2 separate regions of the Homo sapiens genome follow, and region 2 is linked to region 1. Evidence: promoter capture Hi-C in 16 types of primary human blood cells and fetal thymus (Javierre and others, 2016). All regions are on one chromosome and are shown on one strand. Each heading gives the region's core, a stretch centred on a gene start or on the middle of the fragment in contact. The rest is flanking DNA. Distances are from core to core; before and after follow the strand shown. Region 1 holds the start of STX2 (syntaxin 2). Region 2 overlaps ADGRD1 (adhesion G protein-coupled receptor D1).

Evidence for each region. Contacts are between HindIII fragments. The CHiCAGO score rates a contact against its expected background, and 5 or more counts as called.
Region 2: a contact is called between a fragment that was not itself captured here and the fragment with the promoter of STX2 in region 1, in 5 of 17 cell types (naive CD4 T cells, total CD8 T cells, naive CD8 T cells and 2 more). The highest score is 7.8, in naive CD4 T cells.

The regions. Positions count from the first base shown.
Region 1 is chr12:130,835,769-130,843,516 of GRCh38, reverse strand. STX2 (syntaxin 2) reads left to right here and starts at 4,267. Exons shown (of 11, transcript NM_194356.4): 1 at 4,267-4,447. The coding sequence starts at 4,418. RefSeq lists silencers at 4,064-4,573, 4,644-4,703. The HindIII fragment of the contact is 18,553 bases long and covers 1-5,269 here.
Region 2 is chr12:131,096,913-131,104,660 of GRCh38, reverse strand. The region is part of intron 15 of ADGRD1 (adhesion G protein-coupled receptor D1); the gene reads right to left. Among named protein-coding and RNA genes, the nearest start is that of LINC01257, 64 kb to the left of the region's middle. The HindIII fragment of the contact is 196 bases long and covers 3,608-3,803 here.

The sequences.
Region 1 (7,748 bases), core at 3,018-5,517:
TATGTATATACTATATATTTACAGTGGATGTGTGTGTATATATATATTATATATATTATATATATAATGTATATATAATATATAATATATATATATAAATTATATATATTATATATATAATGTATATATAATATATATAATATATATATAAATTATATATATATGTAATATATATTATATATATATTTAGACAGGGTCTCATTCTGTTGCCCAGGCTGGAGTGCAGTGGCACAATCACAGCTCACTTCAGCCTTGACCTCCTGGGCTCAAGCAATCCTCCTGCGTCAGCCTCCTGAGTAACCTACAGGCACATGCCACCATGCCCAGCTAATTTTTAAAAATTTTTTGCAGAGACAGTGTTTTGCTATGTTGCCCAGGCTCCAGTCAGATTTTCTCGGGAATGTAACTTAGCCCTTTGTTTCTCTTTTCTTTCTTTCTTTCTTTCTTTCTTTCTTTCTTTCTTTCTTTCTTTCTTTCTTTCTTTCTTTCTTCCTTCCTTCCTTCCTTCCTTCTTCTTTCTTTCTTTCTTCCATATTTCCTTTCTCCTTCCTTCCTTCCTTTCTTTTTCCTTTTTTCTCCTTCCTTCCTTTTTTCTTTCTTCCTTCTTTTTTCCTTCTTCCTCTCTTTTTTCCTTCTTCCTCTTCCTCTGCCTCTTTCGCGTTTTCTTCTTTAAGTTTTTTAAACATTTATTTATTTATTTATTTATTTTTTAGAAACAGGGTCTTGCTCTGTGGACCCGGCTGGAGAGCAGTTGCATGATCACAGCTTACTGCAGCCTCCAACTCCTGGGCTCAAGCAATCCTCCCACCTCAGCCTCCATGTAGATTTCATTCAATTTTAGTGTTTGGCTGTTATGATGGTGTTTTGAACGCACTGTTGTGATCTGGTTGATGTTTTGACCCCAAAAACACCTTGACTGCATATGTATGTATGTAATATGAACAAAAATGATAAATTACACATTATTATTTATCAGGGGAAATTCAGCCAGATATTGGGCAAAATTCATCCCCAATATTTCACGTAGGTTATTTTCTATTTCCCCTAAGTGTTGGCCGGTCTGAGAAATAAAGGGACAGAGTACAAAAGAGAGAAATTTTAAAGCTGGGTGTCTGGGGGAGACATCACATGTCGGCAGGTTCCGTGATGCCCCCTGAGCCATAAAACTAGCAAGTTTTTATAAGCGATTTTCAAAAGGGGAGGGAGTGTACAAATAGGGTGTGGGTCACAGAGATCACATGCTTCACAAGGTAATAGAATATCACAAGGTAAATGGAGGCAGGGCGAGATCACAGGACCACAGGACCGGGGAGAAATTAGAATTGCTAATGAAGTTTCGGGCAGGCACTGTCATTGATAACATCTTATCAGGAAACAGGGTTTGAGAGCAGACAACTGGTCTGACCAAAATTTATTAGGCGGGAATTTCCTCGTCCTAATAAGCCTGGGAGGGCTACAGGAGACTGGGGCTTATTTCATCCCTACAGCTGCGATCTGTATATACATATAGCTTGTATGTACTATATGTGTGTATATAGCATGTATACACTATATGTGTGTGTATAGTATGTATATACTATATATTTATAGTGCATGTGTGTATGTGTATATATATATTTTTTTAGACAGGGTCTCACTCTGTTGCCCAGGCTGGAGTGCAGTGGCACAGTCACAGCTCACTTCAGCCTTAACCTCCTGGGCTCAAGCAATCCTCCTGCCTCAGCCTCCTGAGTAGTCTACAGGCACATGCCACCATGCCCAGCCACCCCCAAAGCGGCCATTTCAGAGGCCTACCCTCAGGGATGCTTTCTCTTTCTCAGGGATGTTCCTTGCTGAGAAAAAGAATTCAGCAATATTTCTCCCATTTGCTTTTGAAAGAAGAGAAATACGGCTCTGTTCCGCCTGGCTCACCGGCAGTCAGAGTTTAAGGTTATCTCTCTTGTTCCCTGAACATTGCTGTTATCCTGTTCTTTTTTCTAGGTGCCCAGATTTCATATTGTTCAAACACACATGCTCTACAAACAATTTGTGCAGTTAACAAAATCATCACAGGGTCCTGAGGCGACATACATCCTCCTCAGCTTACGAAGATGATGGGATTAAGAGATTAAAGTAAAGACAGGCCTAGGAAATCACAAGGGTATTGACTGGGGAAGTGATAAGTGTCCATGAAATCTTCACAATTTATGTTCAGAGATTACAGTAAAGACAGGCATAAGAAATTATAAAAGTATTAATTTGGGGAACTAATAAATGTCCATGAAATCTTCATAATTTATGTTCTTCTTCCATGGCTTCAGCCGGTCCCTCCATTCAGGGTCCCTGAATTCCCACAACGATTATTCACAACTTCATTTTTTTTCTCTGGCAGGATAAGGAAAGTTTTGAGGTTGGGCATGGTGGGCTCATGTCTGTGGTCCCTGTGCTTTTGGAGGCTGAGGTGGGAGGATTACTTGAGCCCAGGAGTTCAAGGCGGCAGTGGACTATGACCATGCCACTGCACTCCAGTCTGGGAGACAGAATAAGACTCTGTCTCAAACAAACAAACAAACAAACAAAAAGTTTTGGTTGCCAATTCAACACCATCCAGCTGCTGCCAATATTATCATATGTTTTTGAAAAATCCACTGGGAGAGAGGGAGAAACGAGGGAGGGCCCAGTATTTACCAGAGAGGGAGAATTAAAATGGTGGTGGCAGAGGCAAGAAGGCCGAAAGAAAAGCACTTGCCTGTTGCGGGGTCCAGGAGGCATTCTGGTGGGGAAGTTCAGGATATGGAGAGAAAAAACATATCTTTTTTTTTTTTTTGGAGACGGAGTCTCGCTTTACTGTCCAGGCTGGAGTGCAGTGGTGCGATCTTGGCTCACTGCAAGCTCCACCTCCCGGGTTCAAGCAATTCTCATGCATCAGCCTCCTGAGTAGCTGGGATTACAGGTGCCCGCCACCACACTCACCTGGACAACTGGCTGTCAAGACCTTCCATCGGGTAACAGAACCACATCACACCTAGAACCAAGTCCAAAACGTCCTGTTTTTTAATGTGTAGCCTGTTGCTCTCAAGCAGATTTCTTAGCGCTGCCTTCTGGTCAGACCAAAGCCACCTCCTCCAGGAGGCAGTAAAGACTTTAACCTTGTTTAAAAACAAATCTGGCCTTGCCTTCTCCTCCTGGAAGGCAATCTTTGTTTGCCTGGGAGTCTTCGGCTAGCCAGAGAGTAACAGTGTGATTTATGGTGGGGGCTTAGGGTTACATGGATATCACTTAACCAAGAGGCTGAGATCAAGCATGAAAGCAATCAAACAATCAATCAATCATGCACATGCAATGGAGCCCAGTAAACGTTCTGCACACTGTGGCTCAAGTGAGCTTCCCTGGCTGGCAGTACTTCGTGTGTAAGGCCACACATCAGTGCAGGGCAAGTAATGAGGCCTGACTACACAGGGAGAGGACCACGGGAGGACCTTGAAGCTGCACGCCGTAATCCCCAGACTCCCCCTCTGCCCTTCTTCCTTGGCTGATGTTAATCCGTATCATTTTCCTGCTAAGAAACCATAGTTGTGAGTACAGTAGTTTTTAGTGTATTCTGTGATTCCTTCTAGCAAATTATGGAACTTGAAGGTGGTTTTGGAAACCGCCAGAATTTGCCGTTGGTGTCAGAGGTGATAATGGTCTTGGGGACTGTTCCCCCAACCTGGGTAGTTCACCTAAGCTCCTGCACCTTCATGACGACCTCTCTGCCAGTTCCGTGCCCATGCCCTTACTTTCTTTTCTCATCTATCATTTATTTGTCTGTGTCTGTATTGCCTGTTTCTCCTGCCAGAATGGTATCCCAGGGCTGGGCCTGCGGACGCTCTTCCCGTTACCGCCCCCTGCCGTGTTATGCTCCGTAAGCATCATGTGTGGTACACGATCTCTTCTCCTTCATTCACACCCGAGGCTGCGCGTGGACCCTTAAAGAGAAGGTTCGGCATATGTATTACCCAAAGCTGCACCCAGCACATTCCGGGAGCTTTGCTCTTTTGTCACTATTCGTTGAATGCTCTATATTTTGATAAATAAAACAATGAGTGTGAAAGCATAAAAGCAGATCAAGGGACAAACAGCACGTGTAGCGGAACTGCCAGCCTGGGGCTCGGCCGGACCCCGCCCCTCCCCGCCTAGGCCCCGCCCCCAGGCCCCGCCCCTCCGGGCTCCCGCTGGAAAGCGCTGCCGCCGTGTGGGTGGGTGCGGGGCGCGGCGCGGGCCGGGCATGCGCAGAGCGCGCGGGGCGCGGTTGCCGTGGCAGCGCCGGCTCCAGGGAGGGCTGCTGGCGCCGGGCCGGGACCGCGGGGCCTGAGGCGGAGACCGGAGAGCCCGAGGCCCGGCCGGAGGCAGCTCGGGACAGGCTTGAGCGGCGGGGCGCGCTGCCCGGCCGGCGGGGATGCGGGACCGGCTGCCAGACCTGACGGCGGTGAGCGGCAGCCGCGGGTAGCGGTTCAGGCCCGGCCGGGGCGGCGTCTGGAGGGCGGGCGGGGGCTCGGGGCGTCTTGGGCGGGGCTCCGGGAGGGTCCCCAGGGCGGGGATCTCCGGCGTTCTGGGGCGGGGGCTGCGGGCAGGGTCTCAGGGAGTCCTGAGCGGGGACTGCTGGTGGGGTCCCCAGGGCGGGGGTCCCGGGAGTCCTAGGGTGGGGGCTCCGGGCGGGGTCCCCAGGGCTTCCTGGGCGGAGTCCTCAGGGCGGGTTGGGGCAGGAGGAGGGAGCGGGGAAGGTCCCGGCCTCGACCCCCTCTTCGAGCGTGGCTCCCTGTCCGTCACTCCGCTTGGCGGATTGTATCTGGCGCTTACCCAGCCGGAGCCCACTGGCCTAACTGTGGTCCGCCCCACGGGGTCCCCGCAGCTGGCGTCAGCCCCGGGGAGCAGGCCGGGTCCTCTTGGTCGCTGCTTTATCCCTGGGGCTTCACAAAGGACTGTGCACCAAGCGGGAGGCAACAGATGGGTGTGAAATGTGGGCACCTTAGAGTGCTGGGTGCTTGGGGTGGGGCGAGCGCGAACAGCAGCTTGTGTCTGATCTCCCAGTAGTTTGCTTTGGAAACTGGGACCGTGTGTTGACTCTGAACGCACCTTACGCGCCCAGCAGCCGGGCACACAGCAAGTTACTGTTTACTTTAGCAAGGGAAAAGCAGGTCACTAAAAATTTTGGAAGGATTTCGATGCATTCTACACGTGTAAAGGTGACAGGACTGTGCATGGTGCAGTGACAGCGGAATGATAGTGATGGTCGTGCACTTTCCAAGCTTGTCTAACCCAGGACGGCTTAGGCCAGCAGAAGTAGTTATGACTTTTTCCCTTTACAATACAGGTACTAATTCATGCTACGTGTGTGCACAGATAGAGCCTCTGGTCTCTAAATTGTTGGCAGCCTCAGAACAGGGGTGCTAAGGCCCACAGCCCTACGACACCCACTGCATGTAATGAATTATTCTCTCTCCTCTGCTGCTAGAATGGAGCTGTTATGTACCCCCGAGTGGGAGAATAGAGAAAAGAGCCACTTAAATCATTATCTGTGTTCTGTGGTTCAGATGAGGAGCTCTGGTTGAGAAAGGCAATGATTTCATCCTTAGGATCATGGAAATTATGCTTTATATTCATTCCAAGGAAGTTTCTTCACGGTGATTTTTCCTTTTTTATTAATGGACAAATATTCCCTGTGTTCCGCAGATCAATATCATCTTAAACACAGCAAATTATAGTTGTGTTGTCTTGCCCGATGGATTATCTTTCAGTGCCGTGTAGTAGGAGCTCAGGTATTTATTTAATGAAGAAAAGCTGTGGCTCACTCCTGTAATCCCAGCAGTCTGGGAGATCAGGGTGGGGGCATCACTTGAGCCCAGGTATTGGAGACCAGCTTGGGCAACACAGGGAGACACTGTTTCTCGAAAAAAATTAAAAAATTAGCAGGAGGCCAGTCGCAGTGGCTCATGCCTGTAATCCCAGCACTTTGGGAGGCCGAGTTGGGTGGACCACTTGAGGTCAGGAGTTGGAGACTAGCCTGGCCAACATGGCAAAACCCCGTTTCTACTAAAATAGCCGGATGTCATGGCGCACACCTGTAGTCCCAGCTACTCTGGAGGCTGCGGCAGGAGCATCGCTTGAATCCAGGAGGCGGAGGTTGCAGAAAGCCGAGATTGTGCCACTGTACTCCAGTCTGGGCAACAGAAAGAGACTCTGTTTCAGAAAAACCAACAAAACAAAGCACGCACAAAAAAACTATCCAGGTGTGACTCGCACCTGTAGTCCTTGGTACTCAGGAGGCTAAGCTAGGAGGATTCCTTGAGCCCAGGAGATAGAGGCTGCAGTGAGCCATGATTGTGCCATGCCACTGCACTCCCGCCTGGGTGACAGAGTGAGACATTGTCTCATAAAAAAAAAAAAAAAAAGCTCAATGTCATTGAACGTGAGAGCTGTGACTATTTTGGCAAAATACAGCCAAATTTATATGTTGGGGAATCGTGAGAAAGTACGTTTTCTTGGCTTGAATAGCAAAAAGCAAATAAGGCAATTATTTGTCACTCAGTTTCTATATATCCAAACCCTTCCTGAAACAGTAGAACATGTCAATCAGTTTTGTTCTAGAACGGCAGAGCTAGAAGTCAGCTCATCTACTTCAATACCATCCTGCTTTAGACACAGCAGCTGAGCAGTCAGAGAGTATATCCGTGGAAGTTTCCACTCATGGAGTTTCTCATCTTGGGCAAATAATTTTTAAATCTCTCAAAACTTTTTCTTGTACGTGAAATGGGGACAGTGGTATCTCTCTTGTCCACCTCATAGAGGGAGTTATGAAGCATAAAATTATCTAATGTGTGAAGCTCTGGGAGAAGGTGGGAGGGAGCAAGTGCTATGTAATTATAAGTGTGATTAATGTTTACCAGATTTTTTGTTTTTAGGGAGTTATAAAAAGCAGCCTTCTGGCTGGGCACAGTGGCTTTCACTTGTAGTCCCAGCACTTTGGGAGGCTGAGGTGGGCAGATCATTTGAGCTCAGGAGTTCAAGACCAGCCTGGGCAACATGGCAAAACCCTGTCTTTACAAAAAACATACAAAAACTCAGCCAGGTGTAGTGGTGCATGCCTGTGGTTCCAGCTACTCAGGAGGCTGAGGTGGGAAGATTGCTTGAGTCCAGGAGGCGGAGGTTGCAGTGAGCCAAGATTTTGCCACTGCCCTCCAGCCTGGGCAACAGACAGATTGAGACCCTGTCTCAAAAAAAGAGAAAAGAACAACCTTCTCCCTAGTATAAAATAGTAAGTTAAAACTGAATTTGAAGTTTAATAACTTTTAATATTTAAAAACCCATCTTAAAGTTACCAGATACAAGTTTAATTCCCCTCCCCCGCCCCGCCCCAGGAAATGTGTCCTTTCCCAGTAGTTCTTAGAGTAGTTGAATGTGTACTCACAACCGTGCTTGTAAATGGCTGGTGTTTTTTTCTAGGTAAAGTTGAATATTTTGTTGGTTAAAATGCCTCATCAACAATGTCTGATTAACAAAGTATTTGTGATGCTTCCATGAAGTTTCTTTTCTTAGCTGCTGATGCTTGTTCCTGTGAAGAACGTGCCTCTGACAGTTACGTGGACAGGGCTTAAAGAGTAATCTGCTCAATACAATCTGTACTGACAGATGTAGTTTCTAACCAGTGATGCTGTTTTTGAGCAACCAGTCATTTGGGCATAGAAAGTTTGCGTGACTTGGTCCAGATCTCTGACACTCTAAATCCAGAA
Region 2 (7,748 bases), core at 2,456-4,955, 260 kb before region 1:
CTGGGGTTGCAGCCCTGGTTCTGTGCGTGCATGTCCGGTGCCCCGAGGTGCCCTACAGAACACTGAGGCTCCCTCAGCCACAGTCTCCAGACTGTGGCTGCCTGGCCCGGGCAGGCGCTGAGCCTCCTGTCTACACTGCAATACACAGGGCTGCAGACTAACAGTCAGCCCCAGAGCCAGACCTCCCGGGTTCAAGTCCCAGCTGGGCCACGTCCTGGCTGACAATCTGGGCCATGTGACACTCGGCTGTGAAATGAAAATAATGACCCCTCTCCATTCCCACAGTGGCCGCAAGGACTCCATGAATTTACAAACATAAAGTGCTGGAGCAGCTAGGGAAGAGCTGGTTACCGCCCCGGCCTGAGGCCACGACCCTCCCAGTCCCCGCACAAAGTAGTGCTAGGGAAGAGCTGGCTACCGCCCCCGCCTGAGGCCACAACCCTCCCAGTCCCCGCACAATGGCTGCCGCCTGCACACTGTGGGCCTCAGGAAAGCTCTCTAAATGGACACGGTGGTGATCGCCAGCACCCGTGTCTGCTGGGTCCCAACACCTTGTGGGAATGAGGCAGAACAGAACACACCTGGGGATTAAGCGGCTGCAGGGCCACAAAGGATAGAACCGAAGCCGCAGTTCACCGACCGCACAATCCAGACGGCGCCCCCTCGGTTCTGAAGTCGGGGCCTCAAGCTCAGACACATGTGACCCTGCGCTCCAGGAGGCTCCGGGCTCCTAAGCCACAGGCCTGGAAGGGCAGCCTCCCAGCTGCTCACGTGCAGGAGGGCGCCACGTGCTTCCTCCTGTGGCCCATGGCTCTTGTCAGAGGCCCAGCTGAAGCCTGAAGCCTGCATCATGCTGTCCCTGTCCGGCACTGAGGCCCCAGACCCCAGACCCACGTCCCCCCGTCCTCCGAGACGCCTGCCTCCAGCTTCCTCCTGTGGCATGCGGGTAGGGGGAGTCTAAATGCCTTCTCCCCGATCACCAGGACAAAGGAACAAAAGGAGGCCACTCTGAGTGTGTAAGGAGCTGTTGGCAATGAGGGAGGAGATGCCGCAGGCCCAGGGGGCCCCAGCTCAGGGTGAGGCAGGTAGTGCACTGGACCACGGGGAGCAACCTGGGGCCAGGGGGCCATGGGAAGCCCGAACACTCAGCAAGCACCGCCTTCAACTGTGATTCACAGCGGAGTGGGCTCACGCCCGAGGGGCTACAGACGTGCTAGATTCCTGGGTGCGTGGGGCTGGGGTAGGGGCAGCCTGGACGCCACAGCCTGTGCCTCCCATTTTAGCAGGAGCTCATTTTCACCCTGCAGGCCCTGGTATCTTCTCTGAGAACCAGTGCTTGCAGAAGGCAGGGCCTTGGCCTGGCCCCCTTCAGGAGTGAAACAGCTGTTGCCATGACACCAGCAGCATTTCCCCTGGAGGGGCCCTTTTGTGCTCTCCGGCTCAGGGACAAGGCAGAGAGGCTGAGGGCTGGGCAGAGCCACCTGTGCTGAACGCCGGCTCAGGCCTCAGCAGGCAAGGACCTGCGCACAACTTCCAATTTCCCAGGGGCTGGACTTCCCTCTCCACGGACGTTGTGGCTATCACGGGAAAGGTGGGCACTGCGTGGCCAGGGCCAGGGAGACGGAAGAATCCCCCTTCCAGGTTCATGATGCCCCAGGGAGAGAGGAGGGGCAGTCACAGGGGAGCCCATCAGTATCCCTGAGGATGAGAGGGAACTTTGAAGAAATGGGGCCCCCGTCCCCTCAGGAGAATGGCTGCGGTTTCTTGTTCTTGTTTCTGGTTATTGCAGAATCATGCAGTTAGGGGTAGGAGAGCCCCACTACTCCTTCTCCCATGGATAAACCTTTTTCCTTCAACTCCTGGGCCTGGCCTCCCATATTTGAGAAGACCTTCAGGCTGTTGACCTCTGACCCCTGGGAATCACAGCCATGCCCGTGGGCTTCCCTGCAGCAGGTGCCACGATGTCCCCTGGGTGTGTGCCTCCATCTTGGCTTCCCCTGACCCTCATGGGCTCTCCTGCACTGGGCTTGAGGAACTCAAGGTGGAGACTTTGGTGAACTCACACCGACTCTGCCCAGAGCCCACTCCCTATCGCTGCCTGGCAACACCCAGGGCACCTGGGACGCTGTGGGCGAACAGGGGCCTCCCGGGGGCCCGAGGCTGCCCAGTGCTGCCCATCTCTGCTCCACCAGGTGGGAGCTGAGGTCACAGGCATCTTCTGCCAGCAGAAGGGGCCTTGTGGGAGGGGTAGGCACTCATCAGTCACCTGCCGAGTATGTTTGGCAAAACAAGTTCCTCAACAGGCGGGTGCTGCCAGTGCATTCCCACCGCAGCATTCTCGGCAATGGAAACAAACATCTCCACCTGCAGACCGACGGGCCAAGAGCTACTCCCATTAATCGCATAGCCGCGGTGGGTGAAGGGAACTCAGTTTCTAGGCCACATTCCCCACGCTAAGTGTGTGACACTCCAGTTTCCGCATGACATTATTAGCAAATTGTCCATGAAATGATGTTTCTGCTTTCAGATAAGTTTGGAAAAAGCTCCATTCTCTGCACCCCTTAAAAGACTTTTTGGATGAATATAAAGCCACTTAAGAGTTCTGAGGATTCTGCAGGTAAAATAAACCCCCCTGTTCAGCTATGTTCAACTTGGCATCTCTTAAACTCTTTGGAGGAGGAAGGGAAGAGACCCAATGACAGCAATAGAGATGTGGTTTAAGAAGTGCTGTTTTAGAGGAAGTGAGATGTTTCAGAAACTAAGAATAAAACCAAATACAGGACACACTGACATTATACTGGATATGCAATCTTTCTAAGACAACTGAAAAGTCTTGTCTCTCACACTGATCTCTGCCTAGAGATGGAAGTAAGGGTCAGTTACAAGAGTTTTGGGCCTCAGCAGAGGGAATGGTTCTTGGAAACGAACGTCCAGCTCTTCAGCAGTTACCAAACTGAATTCAGTTAAAAACCAATGGAGGCCAGACACAGTGGCTCACGCCTGTAATCACTCTGGGAGGCCGAGGCGGGCAGATCACCTGAGGCGAGGAGTTTGAGACCAGTCTGGCCAACATGGTGAAATCCCGTCTCTCCTAAAAATACAAAAATTAGCCAGACATGATGGCCCACACCTGTAATCCCAGCTACTCAGGAGGCTGAGGCAGGAGAATCACTTGAACCCGGGAGGTGAAGGTTGCAGTGAGCCGAAATCGTGCCACTTGCACTCCAGCCTGGGCGACAGAGCCAGACTCCATCTCAAAAAAAAAAAAAAAAAAAAAAAAAAAGAAAGAAAGAAAAAGAAAAAAAATAAAAGAAAGAAAAGAAGAAAAATCAGTGGAAACACTGCTAGTAAAGGAAAGAAAGCAGTGGTGTCCAAAAGCCTGCCTGGCCCACTGCCCTGGGAAGCCCCCCAAGAGATGCACCCCACACAGGTCTCCACCCCACAAAGCCCTGGCTCCTCCCCACCCCTGATCATCTCTGCTCTACCCAAGTCATCTCATGTCCCACCAGAGGGATGCATATCACTCTCGGACACCATAGCTGCATTTCATGGGGCATCGTCTCTCCCCCAGGGACACGGGAAGCCCTGAGGATGCATTAGGGAAGCTTTTCCTACCTCATCTCGCAGCTCTAAGAACAGCAGTGAGCAGTACTGGGAACAATGGTAACCAGAGGTATTTGCTGAAGGCGTCAGGGGAGAAAGAGCCCTCACATCTACCCATCTGACTCTGCCACTGATTCAACAGACAGATTTCCTAAATCTACATCACTGATTAATATCTTTTAAATTGAGAAAATAAAGCTTTAGCTCATCTATTTGCAAATGCAGTGAGGTTCCAGTGGGCTGACATGAGAGTTCGCTGCACACTGGGCTGCAGTTGGTCAGCCAACTCTCTAAAACATCTTAATCTCCGTTCTTGGCCACCCATTCTACTGGGAGTTTCTGACAAATGGGAGTCTAGCCCTAGCCCCAGACCCACACCTACCCACTTATGCCTTAAGCCTTCCAACCATATTATCGATCAACCTTATCGCCAACCAACCATGCCATCAACCAACCCATTATCAATCAACCCACCATCAACCAACCCATCATCAATCAACCTTACCATTAACCAAGCCTACCATCAACCAACCTTACGTTCAAACAATGCATCATCAGCTAATCTGACTATAAACCAACTCCACCATCAACCAACCTTAACATCAACCAACCCATCATCAACCAACTCCACCATCAACTGACCTTACCAACAACCAACCCATCATCAACCAACTTCACCATCAACCAACCTGAACATCAACCAAACCGACCATGAACCAACCTTGCCATCAACCAACCCATCATCAACCAATCTACCAGCCAATTCCACCATCAGCCAAACCCACCATCAACCAACCTTACCTTCAAGTAATCCACTATCAACCAACTCTACCATCAACTGACGCATCATCAACCAAACTCATCATAAACTCACCTTCAACCAACCCACTACCAACTAACCTAACCATTAACCAACCCATTAACCAAATGCATCATAAACCAACCTATCAATCAACCTGATTATCAATCAAACCCATCATCAACCAACCCATCATCAACCAACTTTATCTTCAGCCAATCCTACCCTCAACCAACCTACTGTCAACCAACCCTATCTTCAACCAAACTTACCACCAGCAAACCTCACCATCAACCAACCCCACCATGAACCAACCCCACCATCAATCAAGTCTCTTTATCATGTACTTTTATCAAACCCACCCAAAGCCAGCATCATGCCAGGCACAATGGGGAGTACTAAAAAGAAAGACATATGGCTCTTCCCTTGAACTGAGCTAATAGCCTGACCAGGCAGCCTTGAAATGATTGTAAGAAACATAAGGCCAGACATATTGGAGGGTCACATGGTACATGGTGCTTGAGTTATAAGGTGAGCCCATAGGTAAAAATGATAGATGATCAAAATGACCTTTGAAAACTCCTGAGATCTCCCATAAACTGGAGTCTCCATGGCTTCTGCATGTAACGTTATACATTCTTCTTCCACACAATGGTCTGAATAATGAGGCCGACTTCAGGAGGGATCAAGAAGAAATGGCATGCACACGTCAGGGTCTGCAAACCTCACTGCTTCAACACAGCTTTCAAGTCCACAGAGTGGACTGAGGCAGAAGGTGACAATCTAGGTGATCCTGATAGTGGCTCACTGCCTTCTCTTTACTACAGGGACTTTCTAGTTGTAACACACATTCAGCCATGGATTTGTCATTGTATTACTTAACCCTGCAACCTGTGTTAAATGTTGACTCCACCACGACCTGCACACAGCCTTAGGAAACTGGAAGGGAGGGAGGGTGATCTGAAGGAGGGGGAGAGAAATACTGAGTGGGCGTTAGGAGGGAGAGGGCTTCACACAGGCCTCAATGCTTGGGCAGGAACCTGACAGACAGGACAGGAGACAGCCTTCTAGACCAGAGTGATGTGAGCTCTGACGGTAAGTTCCATGAAGACAGGTCGACTGTCTTGTTTAATTCTGAATCCCCGGGGCCCGACAGAGGATCTGGCAAACTCTAGGCATCATGGAGAATCACAGAAGAGTGGTTGGAAATGACAGAAACGAGGCACCTGCTGCTTGAAGGCATCGACTCCTCAGAGCAAGCCTGTGAGTGGACAGCATGGTTTCCCTTTACAGATGAGGACACTGAGGCAGCCGCAGTAAATGACTGCCCACCACCATGCAGCTGGCGAGAGGCAGGGCTGGGGCTGACCCGTGATGGCCCCTGCTACAGCAGCAAGCATGTATTCAGCACCTACTGTGCACCATGCACGGAAGTCTCATTGCAGTGGGGAAGCGGGTGATGAACAAAGACGTGGATGTGTAAACGTGAATAAATACCTAAGGCTGCCAGTGTCGTGTTGATGAGGCTGTGATGGAAACACACAGGGGCGGTGGCGGAGGTGACTGCAGAGGGAAGAGGGATGGTGGCCCTCACACGGCCATGATCTGAGAAAGGCCCTGACCCAGGCCCTTCCCTCTCCCTTGGAGCACCCACCTCCGAGTCCTGCTGGCTTCTCACCACTGGCCATCTGTCCCAATCCTCTTTCTGATGGATTTCTAGAGCCTCTGCCTTGATCTCTTCAGCCTCCTGGGCTTCCCTGGTCTCCCCACAGCACCAGCCCCATCCTCTACCATGTCCCTCCTGGCTTGGGTTCCGCTGTACACTGGAGCCTCGTCCCTCATGGCTCACCCCCTCCATAGCGCCTGAGTCTCAGACTCAAACCCCCATTCCCCCACCATGGCTTCTGAGGCCCCGCATGCTCCAGCCCCAGCCCGTGCCTCTGACCTGCCTCCATCCACCCTCTCCCTTCATCATGGGAAAGCAAGACCCTCCCCGCTCGGGATTGGACTTGGGGAGCTGGTTATGAAGGTGAGGGAAGCCCTGAAAAAGCAGAGAAGGCAGTGAGGCAGCCCAGACAGCAGCCACTGCGGGAGAAGGAAGTGAGGCCCAGACAGCGGCCACCGCGGGAGGACAGTGGGAGAGGGGACAGCAGCAGAGCCAGGCCGGGCCACCAGCAGAAACTGGAACCAGACCAGCCTGCCCAGGTGAGGCTGGCGCGGGGGTGCAGGGGAGGGTCTGCATGCAGGCGCTGGAGCCACAGGGGGACGCCCATGCCAGCAGGAGCCCAGGCAGGAGGCTGGCCCCTTCGCCCACCCCAGCAGCACCATCTCTCCTTGGTTGGACTTGGCAGGAAGCCAAGCGTAGGGCAGAGAGCAGGGTGAGCAGAGGATGGGCTCCCGGGCACAAGAGCAGGAACTCCGGGCTAGGTCCACACTCCACCCCCACACCAGCCCTTGAACCAACCATCTGCTCCCCAACCTTTGACGCCCACCCTGTCCCGGCCAGGCTGGCTCCTGCCTGTCTCTGGTCTCTCCGCGGCTGGCATCCAGGCTCTCACGGGGCCTGTCTCCCCTCAGGGCAGCCCTCAGCCCCTGGCTGGGCTGCACTCCTGCCCTTGGCTCCTGGACAGCACGAGTGACCAGGCCCTGGCGGATCTGTGACTCCAGGCATCCCTGGTTTGGCGGCCATCCCTGGCCGTAGGCAGCCGTAGCATGTGCCAGCAGCATGCAGCCAGCCTCCCCCGGGCTGGGTCCAGTTGCTGGCACATTTCACGTCCACTGATGGAAATGAACCGACAGCCCGGGGACAGGTAGAAATGAGCTGCTTGGCCACTTGAGGGGTGCTGCAGGACGGGAGAGGACTGGCCACAGGCAGGAGATCTTCCCCGAGGACCCAGCTGGGCTGCTGTGTGTTTGAACAGATGCTGGGACTGGCCTGCCTCGGGTCACAGTGACCTTGTTGAAAGTGTCAGCTGGGGGGACCATCACCCTCTTGTTTTCCAGACCAGGAACCCTGGGGGCTCCTGCTGTCTCCCCTGGCCGCACAGCTTGTGCATCAGTCTGGGGCCATCTGGGAAAACAGAAACCACTCCAGCCTTTCAAAGAGTGGAACATTTGACTCAGGGAATTGCTAACCCTCGGGAGGGGAGAGAAAGGGGGACCTCATAGGGGTAGTGAGGTGGCCCAGGAATGAGCCTCGCCACAAATCCCCCCGTGGAAGCCAGATCCATAGACTGTCCAGCAGGGCTGCAGCCACAGCAGAGGCGTGGCCACTGCCCAAAAAGCCACGTGTAGGGGCGAGAGAAGAGCTGCTGGGCCTCCTCCCCTCCCATCACCTGCCCCAAGT